2 separate regions of the Homo sapiens genome follow, and region 2 is linked to region 1. The links are contacts of gene promoters, found by promoter capture Hi-C in blood cells and fetal thymus (Javierre and others, 2016). All regions are on one chromosome and are shown on one strand. The core of a region is centred on a gene start or on the middle of the fragment in contact, and the rest is flanking DNA. Distances in the headings are between cores, read along the strand shown. Region 1 holds the start of SLCO5A1 (solute carrier organic anion transporter family member 5A1). Region 2 has its middle 13 kb from the start of MSC-AS1.

The links. Contacts are between HindIII fragments. The CHiCAGO score rates a contact against its expected background, and 5 or more counts as called.
Region 2: a fragment that was not itself captured here is called in contact with the fragment with the promoter of SLCO5A1 in region 1 in 1 of 17 cell types (activated CD4 T cells); the score reaches 8.8 in activated CD4 T cells.

What each region holds. Positions count from the first base shown.
Region 1 is chr8:69,833,613-69,840,250 of GRCh38, forward strand. SLCO5A1 (solute carrier organic anion transporter family member 5A1) reads right to left here and starts at 1,366. Exons shown (of 10, transcript NM_030958.3): 1 at 1,242-1,366. It overlaps SLCO5A1-AS1 (SLCO5A1 antisense RNA 1), which reads left to right and starts at 500. Exons shown (of 4, transcript NR_186568.1): 1 at 500-581. RefSeq lists an enhancer at 1,122-1,201 and a silencer at 1,522-1,631. The HindIII fragment of the contact is 8,160 bases long and covers 1-1,914 here.
Region 2 is chr8:71,826,975-71,833,517 of GRCh38, forward strand. No RefSeq gene overlaps it. Among named protein-coding and RNA genes, the nearest start is that of MSC-AS1, 13 kb to the right of the region's middle. RefSeq lists enhancers at 333-392, 3,567-4,766, 4,343-4,522, 6,198-6,247. The HindIII fragment of the contact is 152 bases long and covers 3,676-3,827 here.

The DNA.
Region 1 (6,638 bases), core at 116-2,615:
ATTTTTCTAAAAGGAAAAAAGAAGGTGGGGGTAAACTACGTGTGTAGAAATGTGTGTGCACACTGGTGTGCGTTGGCACGTGTGCGCGACTAGATTTGAATCTGTCTGCTCCACCAGAGACACACATTCAAAGCCGAAGGCAGCAGCAAAAAGGTCAACATGCTTGCCTCTTTATTCCCAACACCAAAAATAACCCCCTGACCGAAAGAACTCTTCAATTACAAATACCAGGGGCATTCGAGGCTGTGGCCCGCACTAAGTCCCAGAGCGCGGTATCAAACGAAACCGAAAATCCGTCTGCTTTGCCGAGAGCTAGGGAAGCCACAACCAAACAAAGAGATCCCGGCACGCTGTCAGAGAGCGCGCGAGGAGCCCACGGAGCCGGCTGGGCGCACGCGGGCCGGCGGGGAGGTGTGCTATTGACTGAGCGCACCCCGCTAGCGTGGGCCTGGGGAGCGTGTGCGCGTGCGCGGCCACACACACACACACACACACACACACACACACACACACACACCGGCGTACTGGAACCTCTCTCGCGATCCCGCACCCAGCTTGAATTCAGCAAGAATCGAAAACAGGTGTGCCCCCGTGGTAAGACCCCGCCCCTAATCTTGGGGACCCCCACTCCACTCCTCCAGCCTGGGGCAAGGACGGGGGGCGGAATATGCACCAGGTGGGAGACAGCCGAGCTTCACTACACTGGGTTTCATTTTGCAGCGCGCCTTTGTGATGCTGCTGAGAAAAGAAAGGAGGAAGGGCAAGGGAGAAAGGCAGAGAGGCTGGGCGGCCAAGGGTGGCCGCTCCGGCATCTCCCTCGGCTGTGCTGGGCCAAACCCGCTCCCAGATTCCCGGCCTGCCAGCCACTCACAATCCCGGGCTTCCCCGCCGCTGCCTTACCCAGGCGCCTTCCCGGGGAACCCCACCAGCCGCTGCGTGAGGAGCCGGGGAATCCCAGCAAACTCTCGCCGCTCGCGGGGGGCGTCCGAACCCCCTGCTTAGGCGAGCGCCCTCACAGCATCGCAGACTCGGATGGACACGCGGATCCCGGCAGGGAGCTCTTGGAGCAGGCGTGGAATCCCAGGGACACCCCCTGCGCGCACATCACATACACGCACATCCTACACACACACACACACACACACACACACACACACACACACACACAGAGCCCGTGGGAAGACAAGACCGCCGGCGACAGCCCGCCGCGCTGCCCGGGCGCTCAAGCCGCCGCTACTCACTAGCGAGTCTGTCAGTCTGTCTGCCTGGCTGAGTAGAGCGGCGGGAGGGGGGCACTGAGCTACGGGAATAGTTGGGAGCCGCGTGAGGAGGCAGCCTCCGTCCAGCCGAAGAGAAATCAGTGAATGAGACTGTGACTCAGGCTGAACTCTTCCCCCCACCCCTCGCCTGTCACCCAAGCCTCTCCTCCGCTCCAAACAGACACACGCGCACAGAGACGCGCCCGGAGAGGAGCAGCCGAGGGCGCAGGCGCGAGGGCAGCCACCCAGCCCAGCCCTCCCACAGCCAGCCACCCCGCTGCCCTTCACCTGCGTGGCTGCGGGGGCCCAAGAGCGCTGAAGCCCCGAGGGAGCCGGTCTCTAGAAAAGTCAGCGGCTGAAGCTGACAGCCCACTCTGAATAAATAAATCATTTCTGATCGTTTATTCCGTGCCTTGGGCACACACCATGTCTCATTCACCATAGTAGATTCTGGGACCAAAGATAAACAAGACAAGATACTTGGTCGGAGGAAACCTCTGGCTTGTGGGGGAAATACTCATGTAAATGGCTTAAAACAACGTGGTACATCTATGCAGCCTGCTACTGGAGTAGCCAATATCCATTAGCCTTCATTTCCACGCAGCAGGAAGAACAGAGGCACGGGGGCATGGTGCTGCCAGTCAATAGGTAGATAAGCTTCCTAGAAGATTGCAGGGATGGGGCAGAGGACCAGACTGCAAGAGTGGCTGAGTAGAAAGGGGCACTACGGGTTTCCTAAGTTGTGTACTGTCAATAATGTGGGGGCAATGACGTTCTGACTTCCTCACCAGAGAGCTGGCTCTGGCAGTGACAGGTAGACAGATGTGAGGCCACACTGCGGGCACAGAAGTGAGTTGGGAGGCAGTCTGAAAGCAAAATGTGATGAGGCATTGGCAGGGGGCATGGAGAGGAGGGAACTGGGCAGCTGATGCAATCTGCAAGAGAAGAAAACCAGCCGAGGTAGGATGACTCCCAAGTTTCTAGCACCAAGTTGGGTGACTACGTGCCTGACAGCCAATAAAAGCACAGGTGGAGAAACATGCTTTAGGAGAAAGATTGTTCTCATCTACATGTGTTGAGTTTGAAATGTTTGGGGGACATCCCAGTGTACGTGTCCCATAAGCCACTGGACACACAGGAGGTTTGGACTAGGAATATTGATCAGTAGTCATCAGCCCAAAGGTGGCATGAGAAAGGATGGAATGAATAGGGAAGATCATCCAAATTGTGAAGAATCTAGGAGGACAGCGTACAGCCAAAGGAAGGAGACTGGAAGCAAGGGTCAGAGAGGTGTGGGACGCATCAGAAAAGCCAAAAGAGCAGACGACTGTAAGAAGGGAAGGGTCAGATGTGTACAGGCTGCAGGGAAGACAAACAGGATGATAACTGAAAAAAAAAAAAAAAAAGAGTATCTGAGGGCACTTGTGACCATTGACAGAGCAGGATAGTGCTCTAATGGAGGAAAGGAGGTTGCTCACAAGTACCAGTGACCATGCTGGCCATTGCTGCCAGGTCGAAGCCCCTCCACTGGCCCTTGGCCTTGCCCAATGAAAGCATTGTCTCCATTTTACAGATGTGATAAGTGTAGAGAGGTTAAGTAACTTTATATAGGCACACAGCTGCTCTGTAGACAATATGAACCAATGTGCTCCAAAAGACTATGTTCTTACTTAACCTCTTAACCCTGACTCTCTACCCTCTCTCCTGCCATTGAATAACATCCTGACTCGTCAATGCACCTTGATTCTTTTGATTATCTCCCTTTAGTCCAACAACCGTCGTATCTACAGCGATCCTTAGAGAACAATTAAGGCCAGTTGACAGTAAAGAACAATCAGTGTGTATTTGAAGTCCATGCTGAGAGAGCATCAATCTTCTGGCAGCTGCAAGACTGACCTATCAACCGAGGCATTTCTTCATTCCCTGCCATTGTCTCCTCCTCTTGAGATCGCCATCAGGCACAGTCACTTTTCTACAAACAGGCAATAGGACTCCCGCTGCCACCCTGCCCAGATTTTAGTCCTCTACTGCTGATAAAGTGAGCAAAGATACGTGGCACTTCCTGAACCCAAATACTCTTCTGAGCTGATTCTAAATCCACACAGAATCAACCTACCTCCTATTACCTCCTTCCAAGCTCTGTGTCCCATTCTCTCATTTCAGTCTCAGCTCCAGACATCAGTGAATTCAATGTGATACATCAGGGGACATCACAGGACTTCCCTACTTGAAAATCAAGCAATCGTGTCCCTGAAACACTCTGTCTTTATTCATGCTCAGTTACCGTAAAGTAGATGCAACTCTAAGAACCTATGGATTTTTTTATTGCCACTAATAGATCATGATTTACAGCAAAATTTTAAAAGGTCCAATTTTACTCACATAAGAAGAAGAAAACATTCAGCAAGAAGCATTTCTTTTGCTTTATCTTTCCCAGTTAAATATGACTTTAAAAAAGACAAAATTTTAAAAGGTCCAATTTTACTCACAAAAGAAGAAGAAAACATTCAGCAAGAAGCATTTCTTTTGCTTTATCTTTCCCAGTTAAATATGACTTTAAAAAAGACAAAATTTTAAAAGGTCCAATTTTACTCACATAGGAAACAAGAAGAAAACATTCAGCAAGAAGCATTTCTTTTGCTTTATCTTTCCCAGTTAAATATGACTTTGAAAAAGAAGAGCACACCTCATTAGCCGTAATTGTCTGATTAATACAAAGAAATGGACTCATATCACGGGGTTCTACTACCCCTATGGTAGTGTTTACTATCCTTATTTCACTCAATAATTACAGTTACTTTAACCAGAATGCCTGCCTTGTTTGGCATTTTGGGAGAGGAAGCATATGACTGTAAACCCTCTTCAAACTTTCAGACTTACGTTTGCTTCTTCTAAGTCCATCGACTTTATACATAAATGACTTCTTTTTAAAAATAAATAAATAAATAAATAAATAAATGATTTCTTTCCTGATCTTCATATAACAAGTATGTAGCCTTTGCAATTTCCAGGGCAGTCTACAGGTTTAAAATCTGGCCGTCCTGGAGAATGGGCAGAAGAAAGCTGAAGGGAGCCTTTTCCCACAGCCCTTCCCTTCCTTCTTAAAGAAGGTTCACTTCAGAGGTCTCCCAGATACAACAAGAACTGAGTTTTTGGTTCAGAATATTTTGTGGGTGCAAAACATAATACATAGTTGCCAGTAACATAATTGAATTAGGTGTTGGTTGTTTAAGAGGAGACACATTGTATCTTTAAGGTAGCCCCTTAATAGAACTTGGCATGTATATCCTTCCTTAGAAGTGAATTTCAGGTTGGGTAAAACCTGAGAAGGAACAGATCTGGCCCTGGGGTACAATGAATGCAGGCAATCACTCCAGCCCTGGTGGCTTGAGGGCCCTGCAAGTGCTAAAGGAGTATAGTGACCAACTGTGTCCAAAGAGACTTAGCACTGCAAGTCCCACACCCCCAAGAAACCACAGTTCCATGAACACCTGGAGGCTTGGCTCCCTATAAAGAAACTGCCACCTCCCTTAATATAATTAAGCCAGATTAGCTGGGTACTGTGGCTCACACCTGTAACCCCAGCACTTTAAGAGGCTGAGATGGGAGGATCCCTTGAGAACACATTTCCACTAAAAAAAAATTTTTTTTAAATAGCCAGGCATGGTGGCATATGCCTGTGGTCTCAGCAACTCAGGAGGCTGAGGCAAAAGGATCACTTAAGCCCAGGAGGTAGAGGCTGCAGTAGGCTGTGATTGCGCGACTGCACTCCAGCCTGGGCAACAGAGCAAGACCCTGTCTCAAAAAATAAACAAACAAACAAAAACCAACAACAACAAAAAATAATTAAGCCAGGCCAGGTGCAGTGGCTCATGCCTGTAATCCCAACACTTTGGGAGGCCGAGGTGGGTGGATCACCTGCGGTCGGGAGTTCAAGGCCAGCCTGACCAACATGGAAAAACCCCATCTCTACTAAAAATACAAAATTAGCTGGGTGTGGTGGCACATGCCTGTAACCCCAGCTACTTGGGAGGCTGAGGCAAGAGAATCACTTGAACTGGGGAGGCGGAGGTTGCAGTGAGCCGAGATCGCACCATTGCACTCCAGCCTGGGTAACAAGAGTGAAACTCCATCTCAACAATAATAATAATAATAATAAAGCCAGATACTCCAAGGCTAGTAATGGAGGGAAACTTCCCTGTGAAGAGGAGACAGTTGTCTTAAAAAAAAAATCATGTTCCCTTGAAAGATGTTTCATAATTACCACCACTGCCACCTTGGCCTGGAAAAGAAAGTGGTCGGATGGGAAGGGGAAGGAAGCAGGTTAGAAGAGGCAGTCCTCCATGGGCTGTGAGCATCTCTACATGTTTCTCTTGGGTGCACCTAGAATGCAAAGCCCTAACCACTTCTGAATGCAGAGAAACTCAAACTGCATTGTCCTCTGCTCTCATACCGCAACAATCAACACAAAAGACTTCTGTGACCAGATGTTGGTGGGCAGTCTACACCAACAAGCAATCAGTTCTGCAGAAGACACCAGCTGGGCATCCTCCAATTCAACTCCGTTCTGACACTATCTACCTCAAGATAGCATCACATCCCAGAGGTTGAGGGCTCAGTCCCACAAAACTGCCTCCTCTCTCCCCTAGACCCAGAGTCAAGTCTGGGCCTCCAGAACATCTGACCAACTAGCTTCAATTTGGGATTCCCACAACCCCTCTTTGGGTTTGATTAATTTGCTGGACAGGCTCACAGAACTCAGGGAAACGCTTACATATACCAGTTTAATACAAAGGATATCAGAAAGAACACAGATGAAGAAGTGCACAGGGGAGGTATGCGGGGAGGTGCACAGAACTTCCATACTCGCTCTAGGTGCGCCACCCCTCAGAAACCTCCACATGTTCAGCTGTCCCAGAAGCTCTCTGAACCCTGTCCTCCTGGGCCTTTTTTGGAGACTTCCTTGGATAGACATGACTGAAGACAAACATGTCAGACGGTGATTGGACAAAAAGCAGAGGCTCTAATACTGATAGACTGAGTGGGGGAAACCCAGCAAGCCCTGTCTGACCATATTCTCCTTGGCCTCTCTGTGCTGCATTTGCACCTTCAGGGTATGGGGCAGGACTGCCTCTGGGATGAGGGTCTTATGACCTCCGATCAGAAAGACTACCTTGGAGCCGGGTGCGGTGGCTCATGCCTGTAATCCCAGCACTTTGAGAGGCCGAGGCGGGTGGATCAACTGAGAACGGGAGTTCAAGACCAGCCTGACCAACATGGAGAAACCCCATCTCTACTAAAAATGCAAAATTAGCCAGGTGTGGTGGCACACGCCTGTAATCCCAGCTACTCGGGAGGCTGAGGCAGGAGAATCGCTTG
Region 2 (6,543 bases), core at 2,502-5,001, 2.0 Mb after region 1:
TGAAATGGAGAGAATTATAATAATCTTCCTTATTTATCTCGCAGAGGACTTGTGAAGCTCAGATGAGATGCTCATCTCAAGCTCTTCGTTGAAGTAACCACCACTTCCAAAATCCCCTCAGAACTATAACACTGCCTGCAAATATAACGGATCCACAAGGCAACAGAGAGCTACACCTTTGGATCTCACAAATACAGTAGTGGGGAACCACCCAGAGCTGTCTTCTGGAAGAGCTGTGATGACAGTAGCGCTGTTGCAGTTACTACAAGGGACCTGAGAAGCCACAGATGGCCCACAGGCAGAAGTGGTGGCCGTGCAGGGGATGCCCCTGACACAGTGACACATGTGCAGAAATCCAGCTTATCGGCCCTCTTGGATTCCCTCTTGCACAGTATTTGCTCTAGAAAGACTCCTGCCACCAGCTGCTTTCTTGAAGGTTGTAGGGGAAAAGGTTCCCTGGACCCCCCCTACACACCATCACCATTGGTACAGGGGGATTGCTGACACCTCCCCAAGGATGTCCTGAAGCTGTGACCAGGTTCCATAGGGAGTCTGCACTCATGGCTTTCCTTCAGGCTGTTTCCTAAGGAATCTGGAATAAGTCAGAGCATTTTGATGTTAAGGAACATGAGGTCTTTGAGAAGGCGTACAACCCCGATCCTTGTATTCATGACCAGTGACCTAAACCACTCTGGCTTGAGGAAAGGACAGAAAGTAACCTCAGGGTTCATCTCTGCTCCCTAGTCGGGTGCCGTGCCTCACGCCTGCAATCCCAGCACTTTGGGAGGCCGAGGAAGGCAAATCACTTGAGTCCAGGAGTTTGAGACCAGCCTGAGCAATATAGTGAGAAGCTTGTCTCTACAAAAAATAAAAATAAACAACTAGCGTGGTGGCTCATGCCTGTTGTCCCAGCTACTCAGGAGGCTGAGGTGGGAGGATCGCTGGAGCCCAGGAAGTCAAGGATGCAGTGAGCCATAATAGTGCCACTGTACTCCAGCCTGGGCAACATAGGCTTAACCCTGTCTTAACAAAAAAAAAAAAAAAAAAAAAAAAAAAAAAAAAAAAAAAATCTGCAGCCTGAGGGTTTGCTGCAACTTATATATTTACCACGAGATGGCGCGCTAATGACGTCTTTTTATTACTGGGACCGGCTGCGTGGCGCTCAATTATTTTTCCTATTGAATCCTGTGGAAAGTGCTGGAGCTGCAGAGAGGTCCCCAAACAGCAGAAACAATGAGCGTGTAAGTACTTAATATAGTGGGGAAATACCCATTGACATATATTTACCGCCCTTGAATTTGGGTTTCAAAGGACTCATTTTTTTGAACTTGGTTACATCATGAAATTCACCTAACATAAAAATTAGCTCTTAAACACAGCTGATGTCAATGGGTAACTTTTCCCGGGGAAGCAGATGCTGCCCGGGTTGTGTGCAGAGCGCCATCCTGGAGGAGCCGGGCTGCAGGGAGCTCCTTGAGGAGCCACATCCAGACCTCTAGCACTGAGTTATCTTTGCCTCCGCTTACCTTCTTGTATCTGCAACAAACCTTTTTAACGTATTCACTCTTGCTTTTCTCAGTTTTTGATAATCAGCCACCTTGCTGTAGTAAAGGATCACACTGTGGAATGCTAAAAAAAAATTGCCATTTTAAAGTAGACAATTTACTGGCATTTAGCATATTCCCAATGTCACGAAATCACCATTTCTATAAGTTTCAAAATATTGTCACCATTCCAAACTAAAACCCCTTAGCTATTAAACAGTTTCTATGTTCCCTCCTTGAACTGGCAACAACTAATCTGTTTTTGTCCCAAAGGATTGATCTATTCTGAATATTTTATATAAATGGAATCATACAATGTGTGACCTTGTGTGTCTACCTGCTTTCACTTAGCATAATATTTTCAAGGTTCATCCATGTTGTAGCACGTGTCAGTGTTTCCTTCCTTTTTATGGTGAGAACTTCCAGTGCAGTGTTGAATAGTCATGGTGAAAACAGGCATCCTTGTCTTGTTCCTGACCTTATGGGGGAAAGCTTTCAGTCTTTCATATTGGGTTTGATGTTAGCATAAAGGCGTCTTATGGTGCTGGGGAAGTTGCCTTCTCCTGGTTTTCTGTTTTGTTTTGTTTTGTTTTTTATCGTGAAAGAGTGTGGGATTTTGTTAAATGCTTTTCTATGTCGATGAAGATGATTGTGTGAGTTTTCCCCTTCATTCTATAATGTGTATTACATTGACTGATTTTCTTATGCCACACCATTCTTGCATTTTGGGGCATATAGTACTTTTAATAACTTTTCTTTAAAAATGAAGATGTGTGTAAAGTATTGCACAAATATAGATGAGGTAGAATTAATTCTGCAGGTTAAGGCAGAGGGAGTGGGAAGGGTTTAGGGGAGGAAGACAAAGAGAAGTCAGCCAGTAAAAGACAGACCAGAAATGACCTTAAATGACAAGGGGATTTTTTTTTAAAAAGCCAAACTTTCAAGCAGCATCTTTCTCTAATCCAAGACAGATGAGAAGCCAGTTTCCAAAAATCCAGTTTCATTTTCCTTATCTTTAAAATGATTAGATTATTTTGATTTTTATTGTCATTGCTATAATTATAGTTTCTTATCCTGTTTATTTCATAAAATTTTCCTAGGTATTGCATAATTTGGGGCCATAATTTTACATTGTTGCACAACAGTCCCGGTTAGGTAATTACAGTAACCATATAGTCTTTGTTTTTTATTATCTTTAGAATGCCATGATAAACCAAAGTAGATTACTTATGAGATACCTTCTAGCTCTAAAGTTTTGTGGCTTTATGATTCTACGAAATCTGTACCACAGATTCTTCCCTAACTGCGCAAATTCTACATCACAAATCCTAGACGGTTAGAAAACCTCTCTCTGGCAATTTCATTAAATCTACTGTACTTCTTATATGTTTCAATTCACACATGTTTTCTCTTTTTCTGTCTTTGGTGAAGATGGAAAAAAGTGGATCACTTGTTGTTGGTGGGAAATTGTTTGTTCCTATAACTCACTTAAGCAAGTATCTATTAAGGTCAAACAAAAATGATCAGCTCTTCTAGGCAGACTGGGGCTTCTCCTCGGTCATGGCATTTCTTGGCTCCCCTACCTCAGTTTCTCCCAGGAGCAGTTCTTTGTTCATCTTCAGATTGGCCACTCCCTGCCTCCACTGCTGGGCTCTCCAGGAGTATGTAATTTTGTGAGCTAAAAATCCTAAGTGAGAATAGATCTATTTTCTTTTTAGTTCAGCACATATAAATTGGGTGTTTTTCAAATCATCTTCATTATAAAATAAAGAGGAAAGCAAACCCAAAAAGAAACAAATATGTTTATAGACAAGTGCCACTCCCTGGGTTGCATTGGTGGGCACCGCCAAGGAAGCAGACAGCCTTGACTCCTTTCTGCGCTTTCGTCCCGTGTCAAGCCCTCGGAAGGAGGTATAGCTCTATGGCTCATCCGTTGTTCCGAGTTAACTCCTAAAGTTCAGTTAGTCTCATCGGTGGGCACCATCTTCCCACCAGCTTCCTTTCACCCCAGCAGACAACTTTTGGGGAGGCTCAGGGAATGGTTTTGGGTTCAGATTCTTAGCTAGAGAGAAATAGATTTAAACTCTGATTCCACCAGTTATTCCCTGTGTGGCCCTTGGAAGGTTATTGAAGCTTTGAGAGCCTGTTTTCCCACCCATAAATCAAGACTATCACAGGCCTATTCATGGGCCTGATCAGAGGCATTAAAGGGCTGATATCTGTAAAGCGTATAGCATGGTGCTTAGCGTGTTTACAGTATGAATTTGCCTCTTCCAATTTTAAAGCTTTACATTTTAAAGTACTTTACTGAACTCAGTCAATACTCTTCTTTTTCTGTCTGAGGGCTCCCTAGCACCATCAGATTATGTACAGCAGAAATAGTAGTGTCAAATGGTAGTGACTAATTAGACATACTTTCTTAGTTGTCTGTGATGACTACATATCTCGGGTGGTTCCAGGGTATGGACTTTCCCAAATCAAATCACCCTCGTTTTACAAGTGAGAAGGAATTTAAACTAAAGAGTAGCAATAACTATTTTCTATCAAGAGAAATTTATTAAATATTTATTGATCATCTGCTTTGTACCAGACAGATGGAGGTTGTAATTTCATAAGACACAAAATGAAAAATGATGATTCCTGCTCTGAAGATATTTAGAATCCAATGAAAGAAAAAAGGCATGCTCACATGCGATCAAGGCAAGGGCCCTGTTTCCAAGCTTTGTGTCTCTGAGCTGCACAAACCCCTTCTCTCTTTAAGCTTTCAGTTATGATTTTACCCCCTCTGAAAGAATCTAAGTCCCCAGAGTAAGACCAAATTTGATAAGAATCTGTATGGGCCAATGGATGGTAGAGTTCCCAAATGAATGGCAAAGTTTCTCAATTCTGTACTGTTTCAAACTTGCCCTTTTAAATTTTAGTGATAAATCATGACTCATGATGACTTTGCTATTCACTGTCTGGCCCGAATTAGAAACCTTGTAGTCATTGTGGCTTTTACCCTGGCTTTCATCACACACATCCAGTCTATAACCCAGTTAATTTGATTCTAGCAGTCAAAAGTCTCTTGGCTCTATCCCTGGTATTCCCACCACCATCGTCTCAGCCTAGGCCTCAGTTTCTTTTGCCTGGACTGTCCAACTTGTGCTCTGTTCAATCTATTCTGCACATTGCCAGACAAAGTAGCTTTCTATGAGTCTGTGCTCAGGTGAATCACATATCGGGATATGGGACAGGTTTAAAGGTCCGAGTATAGAAACAACAACAGTATATTTTGAGAAGTCTTGGAGAAAGGTGAAAATTGTCACAGGGAGATGTCCTAACCTAAAAAGGGAAAACTCACTAGATTCTTGAAACGATAGGTCAAATTTCAGCATCTCCTAGGTTGTCAGGAGTTTGAAGAAAACCAGTAGTTGTTTATATATTATACTTTTTCCTGAAGATTCTTTTATTTGGATCTGATGTTTTTCCACTATAATTTTTACTCTGGAGCAAACCAAACTCAATCATAGAATCTTTTTAAAAGGTCTGAACAGATCTTGTGTTTGGGTTTTTTTTTCAGACAGTCTCTTTCTGTCGCCCAGGCTGGAGTGCAGTGGCACGATCTCGTCTCACTGCAAGCTCCGCCTCCTGGGTTCACGCCGTTCTCCTGCCTCAGTCTCCCGAGTAGCTGGGACTACAGGTGCCCGCCACCATGCCTGGCTAATTTTTGTGTATTTTTAGTAGAGACGGAGTTTCACCGTGTTAGCCAGGATGGTTTCGATCTCCTGACCTCATGATCCACCCACCTCGGCCTCCCAAAGTGCTGGGATTACAGGCTTGAGCCACCGTGCCTGGCCAGGTTTTTAAACACTAATGAAAGTTTGTTTTGAGACTAGAACAGTTTTAAGTACCATCATTTCTGTGCTTATTTGGTTTCCATATAATGTGGAGAAGTTGTTTTCTACCTTTGTAAGATTAAATACTTATCACAGAAATGAAGAGTCTGTGGCAAAGTTTATCATCAACAGTGAAATCACGTAGAGATATTACAGATCTTCTGCAGAACAAGTCAAAAGACACCTGAATGGCTTGAGTTTCATCTGTTAGGTTGGTGCAAAAGTAATTGAGGTTTTTGCCATTGAAAGTAATGGCAAAAACCTCAGTAACTTTTGCACCAAACTCATAAAACATTTAAGTGTAGGTTGACTTTGTTCATTTTCTCAAGCTTTCAGCCTCCCCGTATTGTGATGTACTAGCAATAAAGGGAGACATAATCAGTGCTATTCTGAAGACCCACAGTAAGCAGGGCATTCATTTAAAACTATGGTGCAGTTAAGGCCCCATCCAGCCCAGACCCCTCATTTTAGGTGAGAAATCATAGTTGGAAGAGGGAGAGACTGCCCAAGGCCACCCAACAAGTCAGGCTCTGAGAACGCCCCACTTGCAACCCCACGCGGGCTCCGGGGCACTTGGCCAGTGTGCATGGAAAACAGCTGCAGAGAAATAGCTGTCATGGTGCCAAATTCTTATCTGCTGGTGTCCTTCAGATTGGGTGGGCTGGATGCCAAGGGGAAACTCAGAGTCTGTGAATTCTAATCCTGGACCTGCTAGTAAACAGTTCTGGTCATAGGGTCTTAAATTTCCCTCCCTTTGTCACAGGCTGTTGTTAGTCTAGCAACCAGGGGATAATTCCCTGAAGTGACTGAGCAGAGCTTCTGGGATCCACCCCAGGAGACCTGAAAAGCAGAGGAGCATCCTGAGAGTCCATCTGAGTCAGTGCCTATTGTTGGTGTTGCTTTAACCCTGATATGTTATAGTGGCCATACCATCAATCTACACACTTTTCTATCCAGCTCTCCTGACCATGCAAATGTACTTTACTCTCTATTCCCTCACCCCCAGCATGAGCCAGAAGTGTTGCTTCTCATGCAAATCAATACCTTGAGATTTTCAAAATTCTGAAGAGGCCAACCTTTTCAGAGGAGAACTGAAACAGAATCAGTTAAAGGCTCATATC